Regions from separate parts of the Homo sapiens genome. Here regions 2 and 3 are each linked to region 1. Evidence: promoter capture Hi-C in human tissues and cell types (Jung and others, 2019). All regions are on one chromosome and are shown on one strand. Each heading gives the region's core, a stretch centred on a gene start or on the middle of the fragment in contact. The rest is flanking DNA. Distances are from core to core; before and after follow the strand shown.

The links. The method cuts DNA at HindIII sites, captures the fragments that hold promoters and counts their contacts. A contact is called where the count stands out against the background at its distance.
Region 2: a contact is called between a fragment that was not itself captured here and the fragment with the promoter of MMD2 in region 1, in 3 of the 25 tissues and cell types used here (lymphoblastoid cells, mesendoderm cells and spleen).
Region 3: a contact is called between a fragment that was not itself captured here and the fragment with the promoter of MMD2 in region 1, in 1 of the 25 tissues and cell types used here (hippocampus).

The regions. Positions count from the first base shown.
Region 1 is chr7:4,956,591-4,960,743 of GRCh38, forward strand. It overlaps MMD2 (monocyte to macrophage differentiation associated 2), which reads right to left and starts at 2,597. Exons shown (of 7, transcript NM_198403.4): 1 at 2,381-2,597. The coding sequence starts at 2,427. The HindIII fragment of the contact is 48,661 bases long and covers 1-4,153 here.
Region 2 is chr7:5,096,014-5,100,165 of GRCh38, forward strand. No RefSeq gene overlaps it. Among named protein-coding and RNA genes, the nearest start is that of RBAKDN, 26 kb to the left of the region's middle. The HindIII fragment of the contact is 7,777 bases long and covers 1-4,152 here.
Region 3 is chr7:5,115,272-5,119,992 of GRCh38, forward strand. It overlaps the pseudogene OR10AH1P. Among named protein-coding and RNA genes, the nearest start is that of RBAKDN, 46 kb to the left of the region's middle. RefSeq lists a silencer at 2,651-2,809. The HindIII fragment of the contact is 3,284 bases long and covers 1-3,211 here.

The DNA.
Region 1 (4,153 bases), core at 1,347-3,846:
GCATGAAAGACTGGCCCGTGCTCCAGCTCCAGATCCCTATTCCAATTCCAGAGCAGCCAGCGCAAGTGTCCAAATCTAGAGACCATTTAGACCAGCTCTCATGACTTTACACATCAACCCACTGGGGTCAAGAGAGGTTGAGACATCTACCAAGGTCACACAGCAGGTGTGGGACAGGCCCGGGCTGGTTGCTGAGACTTCAGAGCTCCTTCCCTTCATGTCCACGTCGGCAGCCTTAAACCCAGGGTTTCTCTCTTTCCCGTGAACAGTCCACCAACTTACGTCTCACAAAATCCCCTGGAGCCAGCCTTTACAAGTCCAAGTGCCCACTTTGGGAGGCCGAGGTGAGAGGATCACTTGAGCCCAGGAGTTCAAGACCAGCTTGGGCAACATGGCAAGACCCCGCCTCTATTAAAAATACAAAAGTTAGCCAGGCTTGGTGGCAGGCGCCTGTAGTCCCAGTTACTCGGAAGGCTGAGGCGGGTGAATCACTTGAACCCGGGAGGTGGAGGTTGCAGTGAGCTGAGATCACGCCACCGCACTCCAGAGTCGGCAACAGAGTGAGACTGTCTCAAAAAAAAAAATATATATATATATATATAAATTATCTGGGTATTGTCGTGGTCCATACCTGGAATCCCAGCTACTTGAGGCTGAGGCAGGAGGATCGCTCAAGCCCAGGAATTTGAGGCTGTAGTGAACCATGATTGTGCCACTGCACTCCAGCCTTAGTGTGGGTGACAGAGCAAAACCCTGTCTCAAAGAAAAAAAACAAAGGCCGGGGGCGGTGGGTCATGCCTGTAATCCCAGCACTTTGGGAGGCCGAGGCGGGGGGATCACGACGTCAAGAGATTGAGACCATCCTGGCTAACGCGGTGAAACCCCAGTCTCTACTAAAAATACAAAAAATTAGCCGGGCATGGTGGCAGGTGCCTGTAGTCCCAGCTACTCGGAAGGCTGAAGCAGGAGAATCGCTTGAAACCAGGAGGTGGAGGTTGCAGTGGGCCGAGATCATGCCATTGCACTCCAGCCTGGGCAACAAGAGCGAGACTCCATCTCAGAAAAAAAAAAAAAGTAAGTCCAGTCCAGTCACACAATCTGGTCAACAGAGTCAATCCGCAGGAACTTATCCTCAAGTCCTTCCCAAGTGCATCACATCTCTGGGTGGGATTCCCCATTTAGGAGAGATAGACTCATCATGTCCCCCAGGGGGAAACAGAGGGTGAGACTGAGGGGGAAGGAAGGGTTCCGTCCTGTCCGCCAGCCTTCCCTACCCTGGACACCATCCTAGCCCTGAGCTCCTCTTGTCAAGCTGTGCTCAATATGACCAGAACTTGTGGAGACTTCAGGAGCACCAGGGCACTCTCAACAACCAGTTGCAAGTGACAAGCCACACTGATGTGAGTAGGAAGAATACTGCCAGCCCATCTCCCACTCACCACCCACTGGAGCCTCAGCACACACCAGGCCCCTCTGTTCACGAAGGCAGGGGACCCCAGGTGGCAGAGGGGGAAAGGTGACCTGGAGGACAGCCTGGTGCCCCCTCCAAAGAGGCCCCCGCGGGCTGCTCCCAGCAGACGGGTCTGTGCTCGCCGAAGACCACTGGGGACCGAGGAGCAACTTTAGGAGGGGATTTTTCATGCCAGCTTCCAGGCAAGCACATCTCCCAACAAAATCTTAAAGATATGTAAAAGGAGAAACCCCCTCCCCACGCCCACCTTCTTCACTGGAATTCCAAGCAACAGGAGCCTAACTTCTACTCAGATATCACAATGTCTGTTAATCACCATTTTACAAAAGAGACGGAGGTTCTGAGGGGACCACGGAGTTCACACTATGAAAAGACCAGGATGTACAGGTGCCTCCCCCCACCGCACCCCGAGCCTCAGTTTCTCCATCTGAAAAGAGCACTTACTCTTTCCTCCGACTTGCTGGAAGGGTGGACAGAGGTGGTACCAACGCCTTTTACCATGAACAAGAGTGCCCAAGAGAGACCGAGCGTAACTGCCCGAGCGTAGCTGGCCTGGGCTCCAGGCGCTGCGCAAAGTGCTCTGCAAGGACCAGCTCGCTTAATCCTCACGGCGACCCAGGACACGGGGACTCGCATAACCCCCGTTTTGCAAACGTGGAAATGAGGTTCAGAGAAGTGAAGCGACTTGCCCAATGGCACCCAGCGAGGAGGCGCGGGCGCCCCGGTTACTCCATCCCAGCGAGAAGACGAGGCTGCCTGGGTCCTGGTTTTCTCGGGCGGGGGTCAGGGGTCCGCCGATCCCCTCTAGCGCTCCGGGCGGCGGGGCCCGAGAACCAAGGTGGCCTCCGCGGCCCCCGCCGCCGCGCGCCCCTCCCTCCCTCCCCGCGGACCTCCGCGGCCGCCGCTCACCTCGCGTATTTCGTCTTCTGGAAATCCAGCAGCCGGGGGGCGAACATCGCGGCGCTTCCATGGGAATCTGGCCCCGGGCTCAGAGCGCGGGTAGCTGGCAGAGCCTGGGGGGCGCGGCGGCGGCAGCAGCAGGTTGGAGGGCGCGCGGCGGGGGCCAAGGGGACCTGGTCGGCGCCCGGAGCCGGAGCCGGAGCCCGAGCCGGAGCTGGAGGCGCCCGGAGCCGCCGACGCCAAATCCCGAGCAGATGGTGGCGGGGGCGGGGCGGGCGGGGGCACGGGGGGGCTCCCGGGCTCGCGCTGCCAATCGCCTAAGCCCGGCCCCCTCCCTCCCGCGACCCCGCCGCCTCCGCTGAGGTGGAGGAGGGTCGTGGGGAGATGGGGGGGTGGGAGAGGTGGGGGTGAGGAAGTGGGCGTAAGGAGTGGGGGCGGGACGGGGGGGGTCCTGGCTGCGCGCGCGAGCCACCCATCGCCCAGGCCTGGGGCGGCCCTGGCCCCGGCCCCTTTTCCCGGTGCCCTCCCTGGAAGCCAGGAGGTGGGGGGTTGGTGGGGTGGGGAGCGGGAAGTGGTAGTAGGGGGAGTGGGAAGGATTGGGAAGGCGGGGGCGCCAGGTGGGTGGAATGCAAAGTTGCGGGGCTGAGGGAGTCGGGGAGTGGGAAGGGGACGGGAGTGGGAACAGGGGGTGCTGGAGGGGTTGGGGGAAGTGGGAAGTGGGGGGTAAGGAGAGTGGGAATGGACGTGGGATGAGTGGGAAGTGGGGGCGTTGGTGGGGAGTGGGGGACTTGGGGGTGGGGGAGCGGAAAGTGGGGGGTTGGGGGGAGTGGGGGACCTGGGGGTGGAGGGAGTGGAAAGTGGGGGAAGTTGGGGGGAGTGGGGGACCTGGGGGTGGAGGGAGTGGGAAATGGGGGTGTTGGGGGGTGGAGGGAGTGGAAAGTGGGGGGTTGGGGGGAGTGGGGGACCTGGGGGTGGAGGAAGTGGGGGGTTGGTGGGAAGAAGGGGAACTGGAGGTGGAGGGAGTGGGAAGTCGGGGTGTTGGGGGGGGAGTGAGGGGGTTAGTGGGAAGAGAGGGACTCCGAGGTTGGTGGAGGTGGGAAATGGGGGTCTTGGAGGGAGTGGGGGACCTGGGGGTGGGGGGAGTGGGAAGTGGGGGTGTTGGAGGGAGCGGGGGACCTGGGGGTGGAGGGAGTGGGAAGTGGAGGAGTTGGTGGGGAGTGGGGGACCCGAGGGTAGGGGGACTGGAAAGTGAGGTTGGTGGGGGGTGGAGGGAGTAGGAAGTGGATAGGGGACTTCCCAATCCAGCCCCTTTTTCCCAGGTATCCTCCACCAGTACTTTTTCCAGTGAGGAGAAAAAAGCCCTCCAGGGCTAGACAGGGCTGGACCGACCCCGCTGGCCCCAACTTGGCTGGAAGGACAGCGGACACTGTGCCCGTCGTCCCCAGTGTAGCTGGGCCCAGCACCTACCGCCTGCCTGTGGCTTGCTTGCTCCCCCCACTGCCTGGCTCCCTACTGCCACGTCCCTGCTAGGCACAAGGGCCCCTATGGGACCTGCCCGGGAAGGGTCAGGGCCTCTGGGAAAACCCTCTTCCCCCAAGACTTCATGACTCTGAGGACCCTCCTGACCGCCATGACAGGGTCATTTGCATCTGGTGGCTGGATTCCCGAGTACAAATTCCAGCTTTCTCCCGTAGGAGACCTGGCCCAGGTTCTGGGCTTTGGAAAACCAACCACCCTATGGGAGGCTTGGAACCCCGGGGGGCTGATGGAGGGAAGACAGGC
Region 2 (4,152 bases), core at 1,467-3,966, 140 kb after region 1:
AAACTGTATTGATAATCTCAGAAGGTATAATTTGTATGACAATAGCACAAAAAGGGGAAGAAAATGCAGTTATATTGGCGAAGGGGTTTTTTTTTATTTTATTGACACATAATCATTGTACGTATTTACGGGGCACAGTGTGATATTTTAATACAGGTAAACAGTGTGTAATGATCAAATCACTAAAATTGACACATTGATCACTTCAAATATTTATCATTTCTTTGTACTCAAAAACACTCAAAATCTGCTCTATTTGAAAATATACCATAAATTATTGTCAATTATAGTCACCCTATGGTGCTATAGGACATTCAAATTATTTCTCCTTTGTTAGCTGTAATTTTTTTTTTTTTTTTTTGAGACAGAGTCTAGCTCTGTCACCCAGGCTGGAGTGCAGTGTTGCCATCTCAGCTCACTGCAACCTCTGCCTCCCAGGTTGAAGTGATTCTTCTGCCTCAGCCTCCTGAGTAGCTGGGACTACAGGCATGTACCACCATGCTCAGCTAATTTTTGTATTTTTAGTACAGACTGGGTTTCACTGTGTTGGCCAGGCTGGTCTCAAACTCTTGAGCCAAGGTGAACTGCCTGCCTCTGCTTCCTAACATGCTGGGATTACAGGTATGAGCCACCGCACCTGATCTGTAATTTTGTATCTGTTAACCAACCACTCTCTATCCTCTCCCATCCTTCTCAGCCTCTAGTAACCGTTATTCTACTTTCTTTTCTTTTCTTGTTTTTGTTTTTTGTTTTTTGTTTTTTGAGACAGAGTTTCACTTTTGTTGCCTAGGCTGGAGTGCAATGGTGTGATCTCTGCTCACTGTAATCTCTGCCTCCTGGGTTCAGCCTCCCAAGCAGCTGGGACTACAGGCATGAGCCAGCATGCCTGGCTTTTTTTTTTTTTTTTTTTTTTTTGTATTTTTAGTAGAGATGTGGTTTCTCCATGTTGGTCAGGCCGGTCTCGAACTCCCGACCTCGGGTGATCCACCCGCCTCATTATTCTACTTCCACGAGATCAACATTTTTAGCTTTCACATATAAGTGAGAACTTGTGGTATTTATCTTCCTGTGCCTGGCTTATTTCACTTAACCTAATGTTCTCTACGCTCATCCATGTGACCCCAAATAACAGGATTTTACTCTTTTTAAGGCTGAATCATATTTCATTGTGATCTATAACACATATTTATCCATTCATCTGTTGGTGAACACTCAGATTGATTCCAAATCTTGGCTATTGTGAAAAGTGCTGCAATCCACACGGGAGTGCGGGTGTCTGTTCAACACAGAGACTTCCTTTTCTTTGGATATATATGCTAGAGGGGGATTGCTGGATCATATGGTTGTTGTATTTTTCATTTTTTTGAGGAACTCCCATACTGTTTTCTACAATGATGGTACTAATTTACGGTCTGTCAACAGTGTCTAAGCGTTCCCCTTTCTCCATCTCCTCACCAGCATTTGTTATTTTTGTCGTTTTGATAATAGCTTTTTCTTTTTTTTGAGATGGAAGTTCACTCTTTTCACCCGGGCTGGAGTGCAGTGGTGCGATCTCCGCTCACCGCAGTCTCCGCCTCCCCGATTCAAGCGATTCTTCTGCCTCAGCCTCCTGAGTAGCTGGGATTACAGGCGCCTGCCACCACGCCCAGCTAATTTTTGTATTTTTGGTAGGGACAGGGTTTCATCATGTTGGCCAGGCTGGTCTTGAGCTCCTGACCTCAGGTGATCCTCTTGCCTTGGCCTCCCAAAGTGCTGGGATTACAGTCATGAGCCACCACGCCTGGCTTTTTTTTTTTTTTTTTTTTTTTTTTTTTTTTTTTTGAGAGACAGAGTCTTACTCTTGTTGTCCAGGCTGGTGTGCAATGGCACGATTTTGGCTCACTGCAACCTCTGCCTCCTGAGTTCAAGTGATTCTCCTGCCTCAGCCTCCCCGGTAGCTGGGATTACAGGTGCTTGCCACCATACCTGGCTAATTTTTGTATTTTTAGTAGAGACGGGGTTTCACCATATTGGCCAAGCTGGTCTTGAACTCCTGACCTCAAGTAATCCACCCACCACAGCCTCCCAAAGTGCTGGGATTACAGGCGTGAGCCACCGTGTCTGGCCAATAACAGCTATTCTAACTGGGGTGAGATGATATCTCATTGTGGTTTTGATTCACCATTCCCTGATTATTAGTGATGTTGAGCCTTTTTTCATAGATCTTGAGCCATTTGTATGTCTTCTTTTGAGAAACGTCTATTTAGCTCACTGCCCATTAAAAAAGTTGGATTATCTGTTTTGCTGTTGAGTGTTTGAGTTATTTTTATAGTCTAGATATTAATCTCCTGTTAGATAAGTAGTTTGCAAATATTTTCTCCCATTTTGCAGGTTGTCTTTTCACTCTGTCAACTGTTTCCTTTGTTGTGCAGAATCTTTAGTGTGACATAATTCCATTTCTCTTTGTTATTGTTGTTGCTGCCTGTGCTATTTTTTTTTTTTTTTTTTTTTTTTTTTTTGGACACGGAGTCTCACTCTGTTGCCCAGGCTGGAGTGTAGGGGTATGATCTCAGCTCACTGCAACCTCCACCTCCTAGGTTCTAGCCATTCTCCTGCCTCAGCCTCCCAAGCAGCTGGGACTACAGGCACATGCCACCACGCCTGGCTAATTTTTAGATTTTTAGTAGAGATGGGTTTCACCATGTTGGCCAGGCTGGTCTCGAACTCTTAACCTCAAGTGATCTGCCCACCTCAGCCTCCCAGAGTGCTGGGATTACAGGTGTGAGCCATCGCAGCTGACCAAGATCTTGTTAATAAAAATTTTGCCCAGACCAGTGTCATGAAGTGTTTTCCCTGTGTTTTCTTCTAGTAATGTTATAGCTTTGGGTCTTATATTTAAGTCTTATATTCATTTTGAGTTGATTTTTGTATATGACGAGAAATGGGGATCAGGTTTGATCCTTCTGTTTATGGATACCCAGTTTTTCAACCATTTATTGAAGAGACTATCCTTTCCCCAATGAATGTTCTTGATGCCTTTGTCAAAATTGCATCACCTGGCCAGGCACAGTGGCTCATGCCTGTAAACCCAGCACTTTGGAAGGCTGAAGTGGGTGGACTGCTTGAGCCCAGGAGTTTGAGACCAGGCTGGGCAACATGGTAAAACTCTGTCTCTACAAAAAACACACACAAATAGCTAGGTGTGATGGTGCATGCCTGTGGTCCTAGCTACTTGAAAGGCTGAAGTGGAAGAATCACCTGAGCCTGGGGAGGTCAAGGCTGCAGTAAGCTGTGATTGCACCACTGCACTCTAGCCTGGGTGACAGAGTAAGAAACCATCTCAAAAAAAAAAAAAAAAATTCACTGTAGATGTACGGATTTATTTCTGGGTTCTCTATTCTGTTCCATTGGTCTGTGTGTCTGTTTTTATGCCAGTGCCATGAGGCTTTAATTACTGTAGCTTTGTAGTATATTTTGAAGTCATTTAGTGTTATGCCTTCAGCTTCGTTCTTGCTCACGACTGCTTTGGCTATTTGGAGTTTTTTGTGGCTCTATATGAATTTTAGGATTGTTTTTGCTATTTCTGTGAAGAATGTCTTGGTATTTTGATAGGGATTGCATTGAATCTGTAGATTGCTGTTGGTGGTCTGATCATTTTCACAGTATGAATTCTTGCGATCCATGAGCATAAGGTGTCTTTGCATTTTTCTGTGTGTCCTCTTCAATTTATTTCACCGGTGTTTTATAGTTTCCCTTTCAGAGACCTTTCTCCTCCTTGGTTAACTTTATTCCTAGGTACTTTTTATAGCTACTGTAAATGGGATTGCTTTCTTGACTTTTTTTTTCAGCTAGTTCATTGTCAATGTATAGAAATACTGCTGATTTTTGTATGTTGATTTTTATATCCTGCAACTTTACTAAATTTCAGTTCTAAAAGTTTTTTGGAGCCGGGCACGGTGTCTCACACCTGTAATCCCAACACTTTGGGAGGCCGAGGTGGGCAGATCACAAGGTCAGGAGTTCGAGACCATCCTGGCCAACGTGGTAAAATCCCATCTCTACTAAAAATACAAAAATTAGCTGGGCATGGTGGCGTGCGACTGTAATCCCAGCTACCTGGGAGGCTGAGGCAGGAGAATTGCTTGAACCTGGGAGGCAGAGGTTGCAGTGAGC
Region 3 (4,721 bases), core at 320-2,819, 160 kb after region 1:
TTTAAAATTAAAAAAGTTATAAAGTCTTCTAGCATTTAAAAAAATGTTAAGAAGTTTTTAAAAATTTTAAAACATGGGCTGGGTGTGGTGGCTCACACCTGTAATCCCAGCACTTTGGGAGGCTGAGGCACGAGGATCACTTGAGCCCAGAAGTTGGAGAACAGCCTGGGCAATATAAGGAGACCCTATTTCTACAAATAATTTTAAAAAAAAAATAGGTGTGGTGGCAGGCACCCATGGTCTCAGTTACTTGGGGGCTGAGGCAGGAGGACTGCCTCATTCTGGGAGGTTGAGGCTGCAGTGAGCTGTGTGATCAGACCACCACACTCCAACTTAGGTAACAGAATGAGACCCTGTCTCAAAAAAAAAAAAAAAAAAGTAGGTAGGGTGCAGTAGCCCACCCCTGTAATCCCAGCACTTTGGGAAGCCGAGGCAGACAGATCGCTTGAGTGCAGGAGTTCAAGACCAGCCTGAGTAACATGGCGAAACCCTGTCTCAACAAAAAATAGAAAAATTAGGGCAGACACGGTGGCTCATGCCTATAATCCCAGCACTTTGGGAGGGTGAGGCGGATCAGCTGTGGTCAGGAGTTTGAGAGCAGCCTGGACAACATAGTGAAACCCCATCTCTACTAAAAATACAAAAATTAGCTGGGCGTGGTGGCACATGCCTGTAGTCCCAGCTACTCGGGAGGCTGAGGCAGGAGAATCGCTTGAACCTGGGAGGCAGAGGCTGCAGTGAGCTGAGATTGCGCCACTGCACTCCAGCCTAGGCAACAGAGTGATATGAGACACTGTCTCAAAAAATAAAAATTAGAAAAATTAGCTAGATGAGGCAGTGTTCACCTGCGGTCCCAACTACCTGGGGGGCTGAGATGGGAAGATTGCTTGAACCCAGGAGGCGGAGAGCACAGTGAGCCAAGATCACACCACTGCCCTCCAGCCTTGGCAATGGAGCGAGACCCAGTCTCAATAATGATGATGATATATGATTCTGCATCTAAGAGGAAGGACTGGAACTCTCCTCATGACCATGGCAGCAGCTGCTCTGACTCGTGAAGGCTGCTCTTCCTCATGAGGCGGCTGCCCCCGTGGAGAGGGTGGATGCTCTTCCCTGGTAGTTATTTTCTCTGCAACTGAGGGAGAAATGATGAACCCAGGATTGCAATGGGTTTGTCCTGAATCCAGCAAAGGGGAAGAAAAGGGAATCATAAAGCACCCATCCCAGGGCAGGAGAGATGATGGATGCACTGTTCTATCAGCTCAGGGCCGGGAGGTGTGCAGGGGGTCAGGCAGCCTCTGTGCACAGAGGATTCTCCCGCTGCTTCTGAGACTTCACCCACGTGGCTCTGTCTGCAGGACTGGTCATTCCTGCTGCTCAGAACCAGCCCACTCCACGCAGAGATCACCTGGGAGAACCCAGACTCCTTCCAGTCCTTCCCCGCCGGCTGCAGCTCTTCCTTCTCACTGTAGGCTGGGAACCAGGATGCCTGCCTTCCTAGGTATGGACGAGGTAGGTTTTAGGAGGTGGGATAGAACTGGGAGGGTGGGTGGCTACGTCTGAAGGAGACCCCTGGGTGCCTGGAAGCATGCAGGGCACAGCACAGCAGCTCCGGCCATCTGAATTTCCGGGGAACATTGGACTGGGGGAAGTGAGGGGTGCCCAGGATGGATTGAGGGGAGGATTCTGGGTTCCTGGGAGAAGGTGGGGACAGAGTGAGAAAGGGTAGCCCTCAGAAGGCTGGGCGTGGGGTTCTGGGGCCTAGGACAGGCAAAAGGCATACAGGTGTCTAGGAGGGAGGTGTCACAGTGACACCTCTCCAGCCTGCACTCCTGTCCCTGCCGCAGACCCCAACGCGAGCTGCTGGCCTGAGTCCAATGGGACAGCCCTGCAGGAGTTCGTGATCCTGGGCTTCTCCGTGTGGCCCCCGGGGCTCCGCGTGCTGCTCTTCGTCCTCTTCTTGCCGCTCTACCTGGTCACCCTGGCGGGGAACCTACTGATCCTGGGCCTGGCCCTGGTGGACCCCGCCCTGCACTCGCCAATGTACTTCTTCCTGGGGGCGCTGTCCGCGGCGCAGGCAGCCTACACGCTGGTGCTCACGCCACGCATGCTGGCCGGCTTCCTCCTGCCCTCCAGGGGCCAGGCTGTGGACCCCTCTACCTGCGCCGCCCAGATGGGCCTCTTCGTGGCCCTGGGGGGCTCCGAGTGCCTGCTGCTGGCTGCCATGGCCCTAGACCGCTACCTGGCTATCTGCCATCCACTCTGCTACCCTCGGCTCATGACCATGGACGTCTGCTGGGGCCTGCTTGGCCGCCTGCTGCGCGGGTGGCTCTGTCCTGGCCCTGGGCCTCACCGCGGTCATCTTCCAGCTGCCCTTCTGCCGCGGCGGCCTGGTCAACCACGTCTTCTGCGACCTCCCGGCCGTGCTGGTGCTGGCCTGCGGGTGCCGGGCCCTGCAGGAGCGCGTCCTCCTGGTGGCCTGCCTGCTGCTGCTGGTGCTACCCCTGCTCCTCATCCTGCTCTCCTACACCCGGGTGCTGGTGGTCATCCTGGGTGTTGGGGGGGTCGCGGGCCGCCGCAAGGCCTTCAACACGGTGGCGTCCCACCTCACCGTGGCTGTGCTCCACTACGGCTGTGCCACGGCCATGTATGCCAGGCCCCTGAACAGCCGTTCCCTTGAGGAGGACAAGCTGGTCTCGCTCATCTATATCAACGTCACCCCGCTGCTGTACCCGGCCATCTACACGCTGCGGAACCGGGACATGCAGGAGGCCCTGCAATGCATGGTCGGCCAGAGGACGCTGGGGATGGCCACCAGGTGGATTTTGCCTGATGCTGGGTGCCAGGCGGTGTCTGTCCTGAGATTTCTCCCACTGAGGGGAATCTCACCATTCTGGAGCCATCTAAGCCTCCCCAACGCCTACGGGGTGTAAATCTAAGTATAGCACGCAAAGACCAGCAATCCGACTCCAGCCTAGCGCTGCTGTGTCCGTTGACGTCTTGCGCTGGATGGTTCTTTGCTGTTGGGGGATGTCCCATGCGTTACAAAGTGCTCGGCCGCGCTCTGAGTCTTTCTCTATTCACTGGATGCCGGTGGCACCCTCCACCCCACTACCCTGTGTGATAATCAAAAATGTTCTTGGGCTTGGCGCAGTGGCTCATGCCTGTAACCCCAGCACTTTGGGAGGCCAAGGCAGGAGGATCTCGAGTCCAGGAGTTTGAGACCAGCCTGGCTAACACAGTGAAACCCCGCCTCTACAAAAATTGTCCAGGTGTACTGCTGTGTGCCTGTAGTCCCAGCTAAGTGGGAGGCTGAGGCAGGAGGATCACTTGAGCCCAGGGGGTGGAGGCTGCAGTGAGCTATGATTGCAGGACTGTACTCCAGCCTGGGTGACAGAGCAAAGCCCCATCTCAAACAAAAAAATACCTCCTGAAGGGCCCATTTAGGAGCCAGGAACCTCAGAGGCATGGTCAGTGCAGGTAACCTCTGCCTACCTAACCACCTGGCTGGTGGATGTGCACGCCTATCAAGGCTGATTGGGAAGAATTATGTCTACTCCAGTGAGGAGCACCAAGAAGGAAGCTGACAATGGCTTCAGGAGTCTTGGGAAAGAGGAAGAGTCTCTTCATACCATTTCCATCCTTATCTGTGGCTTCTTGAGGCTGGTGTCAGGAAACCTGAAACACAAAAGCCCTAGCCCTGGAGCAGAAGAGCCTCCCAGCCTTCTCCCCAAATGCTACCGGTATATGGAACATGATCACCCCTAAACAGATTTAAGACAGCTGGTTTTTTTGTGTGTATGCATTTTGCTTTGTTTTGTTTTTTTTTTGTTTTTTAGATGGAGTCTCACACTATTGCCCAGGCTGGAGCGCAATGGTTCGAACTCAGCTTACTGCAACCTCCGCCTTCTGGGTTCAAGCGATTCTCCTGCCTCAGCCTCCCGAGTAGCTCGGATTATAGGTGCCCACCACCATGCCCAGCTAATTTTTTGTATTTTTAGTAGAGACGGTTTCACTATGTTGGCCACGCTGGTCTTGAACTCCTGACCTTGTGATCCGCCCGCCTTGGTCTCCCAAAGTGCTGGGATTACAGGCATGAGCCACCACACCTGGCCTACGACAGCTCTTTTTAAGGACTTTTTTAGAGCAGTTTAGGTTCACAGCACAATTGAGAGGAAGGTACAGAGACATCCCATTTACCCCTGTCCCTGAACAAGATGCACTTCACTGAGGTTATGTTAGATTCCAGAGAAACATTGGTTGAGGGACTCTTCTTTCCAAAATATTTTTGCTTCCAAAAGCTGTTTCAAACACCACAACACCAAAACCCTGTTTTGGGTTTTTTGGTTTTTTTTTTTTTTTTTTTTTTTTGAGACAAAATCTTGCTCTGTCATGCAGGCTGGAGTGCAGTGGTGTGATCTCGGCTCACTGCAACCTCTGCCTCCTGGGCTCAAGCAATTCTCTTGCCTGAGCCTCCCAAGTAGCTGGGATTACTAAGATTACGGGCATGCACCAGCATGCTCGGCTAATTTTTGTATTTTTCATAGTGATGGGGTTTCACCCTGTTGGCCAGGCTGGTCTCAAACTCCTGACCTCAGGTGATCCGCCCACCTCAGCCTCCCAAAGTGTTGGGTTTACAGGTGTGAGCGACCGAGCCCAGCCAGAAATACAAACTAGTTGACTGTGAGTTATCAGATGTCATGAAATTGTTAGCTTCCAGG